Linked DNA regions of Homo sapiens: regions 1 and 3 are each linked to region 2. The links are contacts of gene promoters, found by promoter capture Hi-C in blood cells and fetal thymus (Javierre and others, 2016). All regions are on one chromosome and are shown on one strand. The core of a region is centred on a gene start or on the middle of the fragment in contact, and the rest is flanking DNA. Distances in the headings are between cores, read along the strand shown.

The links. The method cuts DNA at HindIII sites, captures the fragments that hold promoters and counts their contacts. A CHiCAGO score of 5 or more calls a contact.
Region 1: a fragment that was not itself captured here is called in contact with the fragment with the promoter of ALOX15B in region 2 in 1 of 17 cell types (endothelial precursors); the score reaches 5.1 in endothelial precursors.
Region 3: a contact is called between a fragment that was not itself captured here and the fragment with the promoter of ALOX15B in region 2, in 1 of 17 cell types (megakaryocytes). The highest score is 5.0, in megakaryocytes.

What each region holds. Positions count from the first base shown.
Region 1 is chr17:7,933,069-7,937,088 of GRCh38, forward strand. It overlaps CNTROB (centrobin, centriole duplication and spindle assembly protein), which reads left to right. Exons shown (of 19, transcript NM_053051.5): 1 at 1-281; 2 at 1,070-1,154; 3 at 1,397-1,478; 4 at 1,921-2,077; 5 at 3,298-3,414; 6 at 3,633-3,749. The coding sequence starts at 12. Among named protein-coding and RNA genes, the nearest start is that of CNTROB, 2.9 kb to the left of the region's middle. RefSeq lists an enhancer at 1-81 and a silencer at 9-186. The HindIII fragment of the contact is 1,312 bases long and covers 1,881-3,192 here.
Region 2 is chr17:8,036,675-8,040,506 of GRCh38, forward strand. ALOX15B (arachidonate 15-lipoxygenase type B) reads left to right here and starts at 2,385. Exons shown (of 14, transcript NM_001141.3): 1 at 2,385-2,628; 2 at 2,712-2,931; 3 at 3,228-3,309. The coding sequence starts at 2,482. The HindIII fragment of the contact is 10,323 bases long and covers 1,181-3,832 here.
Region 3 is chr17:7,956,975-7,960,626 of GRCh38, forward strand. No RefSeq gene overlaps it. Among named protein-coding and RNA genes, the nearest start is that of CNTROB, 27 kb to the left of the region's middle. The HindIII fragment of the contact is 4,177 bases long and covers 280-3,652 here.

The sequences.
Region 1 (4,020 bases), core at 1,287-3,786, 100 kb before region 2:
TCCCTGTATTCATGGCAACATCAGCTGACAGCCCCAGTTCACCCCTCGGGGCGGAGGATCTCCTGAGTGATTCATCAGAACCCCCTGGGCTCAACCAAGTGTCGTCTGAAGTGACCTCCCAGCTCTATGCTTCTTTGCGCCTCAGCCGGCAGGCGGAGGCCACGGCCCGAGCCCAGCTGTATTTACCCTCCACCTCCCCGCCTCATGAAGGGTTAGACGGCTTCGCCCAAGAATTGAGTCGAAGCTTGTCAGTCGGATTGGAAAAGAACTTGAAGAAAAAGGTGAGGGAAGTGTGTCTTGGAGACCACTGTGGCACTAGACACCAGAGAGTCTTGGGATTGGGGTTGGTAAAAATAAAAAGCTTTGATGAGATTTGAACTCTTCCTGTTGGATTTCATATTCCTTTTAACTGCATAGGCAGCCATGCTTATAAGGGAGGGAGTGACCTGGGACACCATAATTTGAAAATTATGAAACTTCCCAGTGTTTTTTTGTGAGAGACATCTCTGCTCCGAGTAGATAGAGCAAACCTATGGGGTAGGTTGGTGAGCTATTTCCCGTGCACTGGGAATGGGTAAGGTTTCTTGATCCCAAGAGGGAGCTAGGGACTTAGGATAGCAGCTCCGATCCTTCCAGCTCAACACTATGTTGATAGTATGGTTCCAACTTTGGCATGTACATCATTAAGACATAGCTTAGTCAACTACAACATGTTACAGAGAAGATAGTTATTAGTATTGTATAGAAAAGGTGTCAGAGTCAATTTGCAGACTGGTTAGGTCTTCCAGAGTTTGAAAATGATAGCCATAAGCCATACAGTCCTTACATTTGTTCTTGAATCGGCAAGAATCTCCGCAACTCTTGTCTTATACCTCCTCGATTATTTTATTTACACTCTCTTTCTGGCTTCTGTAGTATTTGAATTTCTGATTCAAGTTTAGGACATCCCTTATTGGATCCGTTTGGTTTTTCTTGTTTTCCAAAGTGCTGGAGTGAAAATTCTACCCTGGCAATAGGTAGGAGATAGATAACACAGACTGCATCTGATTTCCATGTGGCTTTTTTCCAGGATGGTTCTAAGCATATCTTTGAGATGGAAAGTGTTCGGGGTCAGCTCCAGACCATGCTCCAAACCTCACGTGATACAGCCTATCGTGAGTAAGCCCCTTCCCTAGAACTATGAAGGAGAACCTAGATGTAAGGGGTGGGAGAAAGTGGACAGAGGAAGCAGGCAGGAAAACCTCTGAGCAAGAGATTTCAGGAGAAAAGTCTCCCGTTCTTTGGGAGAGGGGGTGAAGGAGTGAGGGAACTGGAAAGGAAGGCCTTTTCTCTTCAGGTGGCCCCTGTTTTTGTCATTACCTGACTCTGGCTTTGGGGTCCCTCTGGCTGCCTGCAGGGGATCCTCTCATTCCTGGCGCTGGCTCAGAGAGACGGGAAGAGGACTCCTTTGACAGTGATAGCACAGCCACCTTGCTCAAGTGAGTTCTCCTTGTGGTTCTCCTAGCTTGTTTGCTTTCTTGGAAATCCAGGTGTTTTGTTCCTTATTTCTCCCTTTATTGCTTTTGTACCTCTTAAGAACCCAAGAGGCTTATCACTTGCCTTTCAGTTTTCATCTTTTTCTACTGTCTCCTGCCCCCTTTACTCCTTCAGGAACACAGGTATCTGTTGCCTAGTACCTGGCTTTCTCTTAACCTGCAGTCATTCTTCCCCTCTAAAGAGTTAGCTTGTTTCTGCTGAAACCTTTAAGTGAATCACAGACCTGTGTGTTATTTATAGCACTATGGTTATATAGCTTTACGACTTTGGACAAGTCTCTTGCCCTCTCTGGGTCTCAGTTTCCTCATTTGTAGAATATCACAGTTGGACAAGTGGATTCCAAAAGCTTTCCCAGCCCTAACATTCTCTACCTGATTTGCTCAGCACCCGGCCCCTGCAAGACTTGTCTCCATCTAGCTCAGCCCAAGCCCTGGAGGAGCTGTTTCCCCGCTACACCAGCCTTCGGCCAGGGCCTCCACTCAATCCCCCAGATTTTCAGGGGCTGAGAGATGCATTGGATTCAGAGCATACCCGCCGCAAGGTAAGATGCAAACGCTTCCTTTCGAAAGCAGCAAAGATTAGAAAGAGGGGACCCAAGTGTTGAAAAGGGCTGAGGGGGCCTGGCGTGGTGGCTCACGCCTGTAATCACAGCACTTTGGGAGGCTGAGGCAGGCGGATCACGAGGTCAGGAGATCGAGACCATCCTGGCTAACACGGTGAAACCCGTCTCTACTAAAAATAGAAAAAATTAGCCGGGCATGGTGGTGGGTGCCTGTAGTCCCAGCTACTCGGGAGGCTGAGGCAGGAGAATGGCGTGAACCTGGGAGGCGGAGCTTGCAGTGAGCCGAGATCATGCCGCTGCACTCCAGCCTGGGCGACAGAGCGAGACTCCGTCTCAAAAAAAAAAAACTAAAAAAGAAAAGGGCTGAGGGTTAAGAGCCTGAAAGCTGGGACTTAAATGTTTTTCTGAGGAGGGCTTTTTTGACCATTCCATCTAATATGGCACCACCTCCTTTCCAAGTAGTCAGATCGCCTTCTTATTTCTTTCATGTAGCTTATCGTTCTGATATATCTTGTTTTTTTCTCCTCTCTAAAATTTGAGGGTCCGTATCTTGTTTGTCTTAGTACTGGCTGCCTAAGGTCTAGAATATACATAACACAGAAACACTCTGTGTTTGTCGAATGGACACAAACTCTGCTAGCTTGTGCACAGGATTTACAGCTACTGGTGATATACTGAGCTTTATCTCTGTGAGCCTCTGCCTTAGTGTCTGAAGGGGACAGAGAAATAGACAAAGGAGAGGAAAAGTCAAAATCACTGGTTGCCATTTTTGGAAGCCTCTCTTTCTCCATGTTAAACCCCTTGGCATGAATGAAAGGCTTTCCCCTTTATCCTTGCTGTGTTTATTCATTGTGTCCAATGAGCTTCTGAAGGTAGGAGTAACTTTGCACATTTTGCTGTGTGGGCTGCTGCATCTCTGCCAAAAGGTTTATGGGATTTTTACTCAGGAGATCCAGGAAAAGGAGGAGCCTGGAATCTAAGCACTTATCTCCTGAAAAGGTACAGAAACATGTTGGAGATCTTGAGCCTCAAGGTGCTTGCTTCAGAATTTTCCTGATTCTCCCTCTCCAGACCTATTCTGTTCTTGGGACCCAAGCTTCTTGGCTCCAGCCCACTCCCCCACTAGAGGAGCTGGAAAGTTTGGTGCTGTGGTCATACCAAAGATGGGCAACACCCAGACTCCTCACCCTTTTCCCCAGCATTGTGAGCGCCATATTCAGAGCCTGCAGACCCGAGTGTTAGAGCTACAGCAACAATTAGCCGTGGCTGTGGCTGCCGACCGCAAGAAAGATACCATGATTGAACAACTGGACAAGGTACCAGGGTAGCAAAATGTGGGTGGGTCTCTCCATGAAGAGCATTAAGGAATAATAAATAAGTGGGTGGCCAACCAATGTTTCTTGGTACATGCTGAGAGCTGGGCAAGGGGTTGGTTTGCTGACTGTTGGGAGAAGATGGCTGTTGACCCTGCCCCTGTGGGTAGAAAGAGGCAAAAAAGTTATTTTGAAATTTCATCTTACTTGCCCTACCTAAGACCCTGGCCCGTGTGGTGGAGGGCTGGAACCGGCATGAGGCTGAGCGGACAGAGGTTCTCAGGGGACTTCAAGAGGAACACCAGGCAGCAGAGCTCACCAGAAGCAAGCAGCAGGAGGTGAGCGCCCTGGAGCATATGGCATTAGAACCTGAGTCACAGATCTCAAGATGGAAAGGGGCAGAAATAGCTCTGGAATTAGGGTTTCCAACAGATTGACCTCAGTCTTGTAGTGGCTGTCCTGACATTTCTTCTCATCCCTCCTTTCTTCTCCTTTAACCGTTTCTGCTGTCCAACTTGAATCATCAATGTCTTAATTTTTCCCACACCATGTAGTCTTCTATCTGGCCCCTTAGTCATTTAGTTAACTGTGAAGTTTCAAGTTTACATT
Region 2 (3,832 bases), core at 1,135-3,634:
GCAGGCTGAGGCAGGAGAATCGCTTAAACCCAGGAGGCGGAGGTTGCAGTGAGCACAGATTGCGCCACTGCACTCCAGCCTGGGCAACAGAGCGAGACTCGGTCTCAAAAAAAAAAAAAAAAAATTAAACATACTGTTACCATATGATCCAGCAATTCTACTACTAGGTATATATCCTAAAGAATTGAAAGTAAGAACTGGAGCGTGCAATATTGGTTTTCTGTTCCTGTGTTAGTTTGCTAAGGATAATGGCCTCCAGCTCTATCCATGTTCCCACAAAGGACATGATCTCATTCTTTTTTTTTTTTTTTTTGAGACGAAGTCTCGCTCTATCACCAGGGCTGGAGTGCAGTGGCACGATCTTGGCTCACTGCAACCTCCGCCTCCCGGGTTCAAGTGATTCTCCTGCCTCAGCCTCCTGAGTAGCTGGAATTGCAACCTCTGCCTCCCGGGTTCAAATGATTCTCCTGCCTCAGCCTCCTGAGTAGCCGGAATTACAGGCAGTCACCACCACACCCAGCTAATTTTTGTATTTTTAGTAGAGATGGGGTTTCACCATGTTGGTCAGGCTGGTCTCGAACTCCTGACCTCGTGATCTGCCTGCCTCAGCCTCCCAAAGTTCTGAGATTACAGGTGTGAGACACCATGCCTGACCATGATCTCATTCTTTTTCATGGCTGTATAGTATTCCATGGTATATATGGAATATACATGATAAGTCACTCTCACTTCAGTTGGCTTTCATGAAACACTGTGACAGGCACAAGAGGACAAAGTGTCTGCCGGCATCGTTCTCCTCCTACCTCATTGACTGAACTTTGCTGCTTCCACTCCTTTGCATGACTTCCAAATATCAGAGGACCTTAGGGCACAGCTTGTGCCTCTTCTCTTCTCTACTTATAGGATATTCTCTGCCTAGTGATCTCCACCAGCCTGTGGTATAGATGTACCTGTGTGCTTGTGACTCAAAGATGCACACCTGCAGTCCTGAGCTCTATGCCCAGACGTGGGTTCTCCACTTGGATGTCTAATGGCCATCTCAAACTTAGCATCTCCAGACCGAAAACCCCAAATCTGTTATGTTATTCCCCCAAAGCCCAAATCCATAACTTCCCCTTGGCATCTCTCCCCCAAATCCCTCCCTCACTGCACTCTTGCCTTTCCCTCCTCCAACAAGCCAAGCTTTTCCTAACCACAGGGCCTCTTCAGGAACAGTTTCCTCTGCACAAAACTCTGTTCCCCAGACAGATCCTTTCACCTCCTCTGAGGCTCTGAACGCCTCCCTTCCCACCTCTGCTTCTCACTCCTTCACATTAGTCTGTTTCATTTCCTTCATTGCACTTATTATCATCTGAAATTATGTGTTGGTTTACTTATTTTCTCTCACACTTGATTTTTTTTTTTTAGACCGAGATTTGCTCTGTCGCCCATGCTGGAGTGCAATGGCACAACTTCACCTCACTGAAACCTCCGCCTTCCGGGTTCAAGCTATTCTCCTGCCTCAGCCTCCTGAGTAGCTGGGACTACAGGCGCCCGCCACCACGCTTGGCTAATTTTTTTGTATTTTTAGTAGAGATGGGGTTTCACCATGTTGGCCAGCAACTGTGCCTGGCCTCACACTTGATTTTTAATCTCCATGAGAGCAAGCACTAGGTCTTGCCTGGGCCTTTATCAATAGCAGTGAGCATAGCACCTGGCACAGAGGTAGTTCTGAACATTAATTATTGAATGAAATAAAATAATGAATGTAGGCTGGGCGCGGTGGCTCACGCCTGTAATCCCAGCACTTTGGGAGGCCGAGGCAGGCGGATCATGAGGTCAAGAGATCAAGATCATCCTGGCCTACATGGTGGAACCCCGTCTCTACTAAAATACAAAAATTAGCTGGGCATGGTGGCACTCGCCTGTTGTCTCAGCTACTGGGGAGGCTGAGGTAGGAGAATCACTTGAACCCAGGAGGAGGAGGTTCCAGTGAGCCGAGATCATGCTGCTGCACTCCAGCCTGGCGACAGAGCAAGCCTCTGTCTCAAAAATAAATAAATAAATAAATTTTAAAAATAATGAACGCAGGCCCAAGAAGAGTTGTGGGAAATGGGGTGATATTTTTGCATAGACTTCTAAGGCTAAGAAGGAAAACAAACAGACGTGGTGGGCACAAATCTACCCCCACCCCAACTGGGTCCCAACTCTAGGCTCTCTGGCCTGGCACCACCACTGAAAGGCCCCGTTCCCCAAACCTCAGGGTATTCTTAGTCCCTCCTGTTCCCAGCGCTGCCAATCCCCCGCCCACCCCCACTTTAGTTGCGTGTTCCAGCCTCTCCGCCCCGCCCCTCCCCGCCCTGAAACGGACGTGCTTTTTAGAGGAGTCCACTGGGCTTGGAGTCAGTGGCAATAACCAGGGGCAATAACCAGGCGTGTCCCAGGGGGGAGCCCCGCTCTGCAGCCCTGTGCGCCGTAGAGAGCTGGACTTAGGCTGGCAGCATGGCCGAGTTCAGGGTCAGGGTGTCCACCGGAGAAGCCTTCGGGGCTGGCACATGGGACAAAGTGTCTGTCAGCATCGTGGGGACCCGGGGAGAGAGCCCCCCACTGCCCCTGGACAATCTCGGCAAGGAGTTCACTGCGGGCGCTGTGAGTGCGTGGGAGTGGATGGGGTGGAGGTGAAGGGGGCGAGCAGGAGGGTCCGGCCTGACGCATACTTAACCTCCCCTCAGGAGGAGGACTTCCAGGTGACGCTCCCGGAGGACGTAGGCCGAGTGCTGCTGCTGCGCGTGCACAAGGCGCCCCCAGTGCTGCCCCTGCTGGGGCCCCTGGCCCCGGATGCCTGGTTCTGCCGCTGGTTCCAGCTGACACCGCCGCGGGGCGGCCACCTCCTCTTCCCCTGCTACCAGTGGCTGGAGGGGGCGGGGACCCTGGTGCTGCAGGAGGGTACAGGTGAGGGGCGGGCCGGGCTGGGGCTGCAGGGGGAGCACAGGAAGGGGTAGGGGACTGGGGGTTGGGGAGAAGGGCAGGTGAAATGGAGAGGTGAGCTGGTGTGGCCACAGAGTAGCGGGCAGAGGAGAGGGAATGGCGGAGCCTTGGGGAGCGGGAGGTAGCAGCCTGGTGTAGGAGAAACTGTACTTATGGGAGGAGGGGACCTGGTAGAGGGTGGCAATCGTGGAGACTGTGTGGCTGGTGGTAGTGATGGTGAGTTTCTCTCCCCACCCCAACCTACTCCCCTTCTCCCACAGCCAAGGTGTCCTGGGCAGACCACCACCCTGTGCTCCAGCAACAGCGCCAGGAGGAGCTTCAGGCCCGGCAGGAGATGTACCAGTGAGGAGGGGGTTACTGATGGGGGAGGGTGTGCCCAAACGATGAGGGGCAGCTTGAGTGTCCTGGTCATGACAGAGATTAAAAGCCCCTGCCTCCACCTCTCCTATCAAAGCTGCTCCTGGGATCAGCAGCGTCTACAGGAACGTATTAGAAATGCAAATTCTCAGGCCACCTCCAACCTACTACGACACTGAGGGTGTAGAGTGGGAATTTTTGTTTTGACAAGCCTTCCAGATGACTCTGGTGGCCACTGATGTTTGAAAAACACTGCTCTAGGGCCAGGTGCCGTGGTGGCTCACACCTGTAATCTCAGCACTTTGGGAGGCTGAGGGAGGCGGATCACTGGAGGTCGGGAGTTCGAGACCAGCCTGGCCAACAGGGCGAAACCCCATCTCTACTAAAAATACAAAAATCAGCTGGGTAGGGTGGCGGGCACCTGTATTCTCAGCTACATGGGAGGCTGAGGCAGAAGAATAGCTTGAACCCGGGTGGTGGAGGTTGCAGTGAGCCGATCACGCCATTG
Region 3 (3,652 bases), core at 1,118-3,617, 80 kb before region 2:
TGGTGTGATCACGGCTCACTGCAAGCTCCGCCTCCCGGGTTCACGCCATTCTCCTGCCTCAGCCTCCCGAGTAGCCGGGACTACAGGCGCCCGCCACCGCGCCCGGCTAATTTTTTTGTATTTTTAGTAGAGACGGGTTTTCACCATGCTAGCCAGGATGGTCTCGATCTCCTGACCTCAGGATCTGTCTGCCTCGGCCTCCCAAAATGCTGGGATTACAGGCGTGAGCCACCGCGTCCGGCCTTAACTGGAATTTTAAACCTTTATTTTCTCCTATAAAGCTTGTTCATTACAGAAGATTAGAAAGCAAAATTATAAATAAGAAAATAGAAATCAACTGAAATTCTGTCACCCAGAGAATCATTTTCTTTTTTAATACACTCACACACATACATAAACGGAATTACATTGTACATATAGTTCTCATCAAATTTTTTTCTCTTAATCTCATTACATATTATTTTAAAACAATTTTCAACTGCTGTTTAATTTTATGTCCTCAAGGTATACCATAATTTATATGACCATAATTTATATGACTGTTGTTATATAAATTTATATATATTTATATAATTTTATATAAAATATATATATAATATAAATTTATTTAGTCCCCACTTATTGGACTAAATAAATATTTACCATTCTTTGCTGTTATAAATAATGATGAATGAATATTCTCATATGTACACCTTGGTGTCTCTGTTTTCTAGAAGTGGAATTACTGGTTCGAACAGTCTGAACATTTTTAAGATCCTTAAAACATAATGCCAAATTGTTTTTCAAAAAGATCGCACCAGTTTACACTTCCACCAGATGTGTAGTAAAAGTACAAATAATACTCACTGAGGACACCCTGGCGTGTCATTTCCCATGCTAGAATGCCTTGCCCTTATTTGCTTGAAATGAACTTACAGAGTAACCTCTGTGTGCATGTGACCTGGACAGGTTGCCTTCAGGGCATAGATTTGTCAGTGTCCCACAAGGCATTTTTTGGATGATGTATCCATTAGGATGATTTTGGTGGCACGTAATTGAAACCCTGACTCACGTTGTCTTTAGCAAGAAGGACACAGAAACAGGGTGGGCTCCGAGTGTGGTAAGGTTAATGGCACAATGAAGTCAGGAACTCAGGTTCTTTTTTTTGAGATGGAGTTTCCCTCGTCGCCCAGGTTGGAGTGTACTGGCACAATCTTGGCTCACCTCCCATGTTCAAGTGATTCTCCTGCCTCAGCCTCCCAAGTAGCTGGGATTACAGGCACTCGCCACCATGCCTGGTTAATTTTTGTATTTTTAGTAGGGACGGGGTTTCACCATCTTGGTCAGGCTGGTCTGGAACTCCTGACCTCGTGAGCCACCCGCCTCGGCCTCCCAAAGTGCTGGGATTACAAGCTGAACCGCCACACCCTGCCAGGAACTCAGGTTCTTTTCGTGTCTATCCTTCCCTCCTCAACACCGGCTTCCTCCTCAGACTGGCTGCAGGTGTTTCAGGGCTCTATCCAGATGTAACAAAGCCCATGGCCACATAGGCTGTGCACCACCACGCCCGGCTAATTTTTTGTATTTTTAGGAGAGAAGGGGTTTCAGTGTGTTAGCCAGGATGGTCTCGATCTCCTGACCTCATGATCCGCCCGCCTGGTCCTCCCAAAGTGCTGGGATTACAGGCATGAGCCACCGTGGCTGGCTATGGTAATTATTTTTGAAATGTACATGGCCAGGCATGGTGCTCAAGCCTGTAATCCCAGCACTTTGGGAGGCCAAGTCAGGAGGATCGCCTAAGTCCAGTAGTTCAAGACCCACCTGGGCAGCAAAGTGAGACCCTCGCCTCTACAAAAAATTTAAAATTAGTCAGGAGTGGTGGCACGTGCCTGTAGTCCCCATTACTCGGGAGGCTTGATCTCAGGAGGTTGAGGCTGCAGTGAGCTGTGTTCATGTCACTGCAGTCCAGCCTGAGTGACAGAGCAAGACTCTGTCTCAAAAAAAGTCCAAAAACCCAAAAAGAAAAACCCAAAATAAATAAAAACATACAAATTTTCAATAAATATACATCAAAATATGCAAATTAAGGAAGTGTAGAATCTTTTAATTTTAAATTGTCATGTTTTAGAAGTGATTTTTCTTCTAGTATTTTAAAAATCTTTATCTTCTGAAAATATTTTCAACTATTAAGATAAAAAATGCAGCCGGGTGTCGTGGCTTATGACTGTAATCCCAGCGCTTTGGGAGGCCAAGGTGGGCGGATCACTTGAGGTCAGGAGTTCAAGCCCCGCCTGGCCAACATGGTGAAACCCCTTCTCTACTAAAAAAAAATAGAAAAATTAGCCGGTGTGGTGGCATGTGCCTGTAGTCCCAGCCACTTGGGAGGCTGAGACAGTAGAATGGCTTGAACCTGGGAGGCAGAGGTTGCAGTGGGCTGAGATCACGGCACTGCACTCCAGCCTGGGCAACAGAGCAAGACTCCATCTCGAAAAAAAAAGAAAGATGAAAAATGCAAGTTATAACTAATAAATATTAAACATTTAAGCAAAATCATTCTAATAAAGCTGAAATACTTAAATTTTTGAAAATTTATTAAATCATCTTCACAAAAGTATTTGTGGTTCTAGCATTCAATATCAACAGTTGCCAGTATGAAAAACCAGCATCCTACTTCATCTCTGCTATATCTAGACATACATGCACACCAACTTAAGAGCAATATGGAGTGTTTGCTATTACGGAATGTTCCTGGGCAGTCTTGTGCAATGGTTGTGGGCACTGTTAGTTTATGAGAACTACCTACTTGATAGCTAACAGTTAGATTGTCCCATAGACAAAGATCAGTGTGTTCCAAACTGAACTCACTGGATTCCTTTCCTAAACCTGCTATTTTTCTGCTTTCTCTATCTCAGCAAAGACCTTTTCTCTGTCTCTGTCACCACTCACATCCAGTTTGTCACCATGACCTGCTGATTCTTCCTGTGTGAAATTTCTCCTCACTTCTCCCATCCTGCTCTTATTCTCTCCTGGGTTATTGGGACCACTTCACTCTTGGTCTCCCTCTGTCCTTTCATGGCTCTCTCCAAGCGTTCCCACTTGGTGTGCTCTTTCTAAAATGAAAATCGGCCAGGCGCAGTGACTCACACCTGTAATCCCGGCACTTTAGGAGGTCGAGGTGGGCAGATCACCTGAGGTCAGGAGTTCGAGACCAGCCTGACCAACATGGTGAAACCCCATGTCTACTAAAAATACAAAAATTAGCTAGGCATGGTGGCGCACGCCTGTAATCCCAGCTACTTGGGAGGCTGAGGCAGGAGAATCACTTGAACCCTGGAGGCAGAGATTGCAGTGAGCTGAGATCACACCATTGCACTCCAGCCTGGGCATCAAGAGCGAAACTCCGTCGCAAAAATAAATAAATAAATAAATAAATAGCAAATCTACTTGTCAAAATAGCATGTCTTTAATAAAAGATAAATAAAAATAAAAAACAAAATAAAACACACATCTATACTCACCTTCATGGAACCCTCCCAAATCTGAGCACAGTCCGCAGGGCCCCTGCCTCTCCCCAACATCATGCTGTGGTTGCATGTGCTTCATCCCATCCGGAGCTCCAGGCTATTGCTGCTGTTTTTCCTGTGTTCTCATCCCAGGGGCCTCTCCGGGGCAG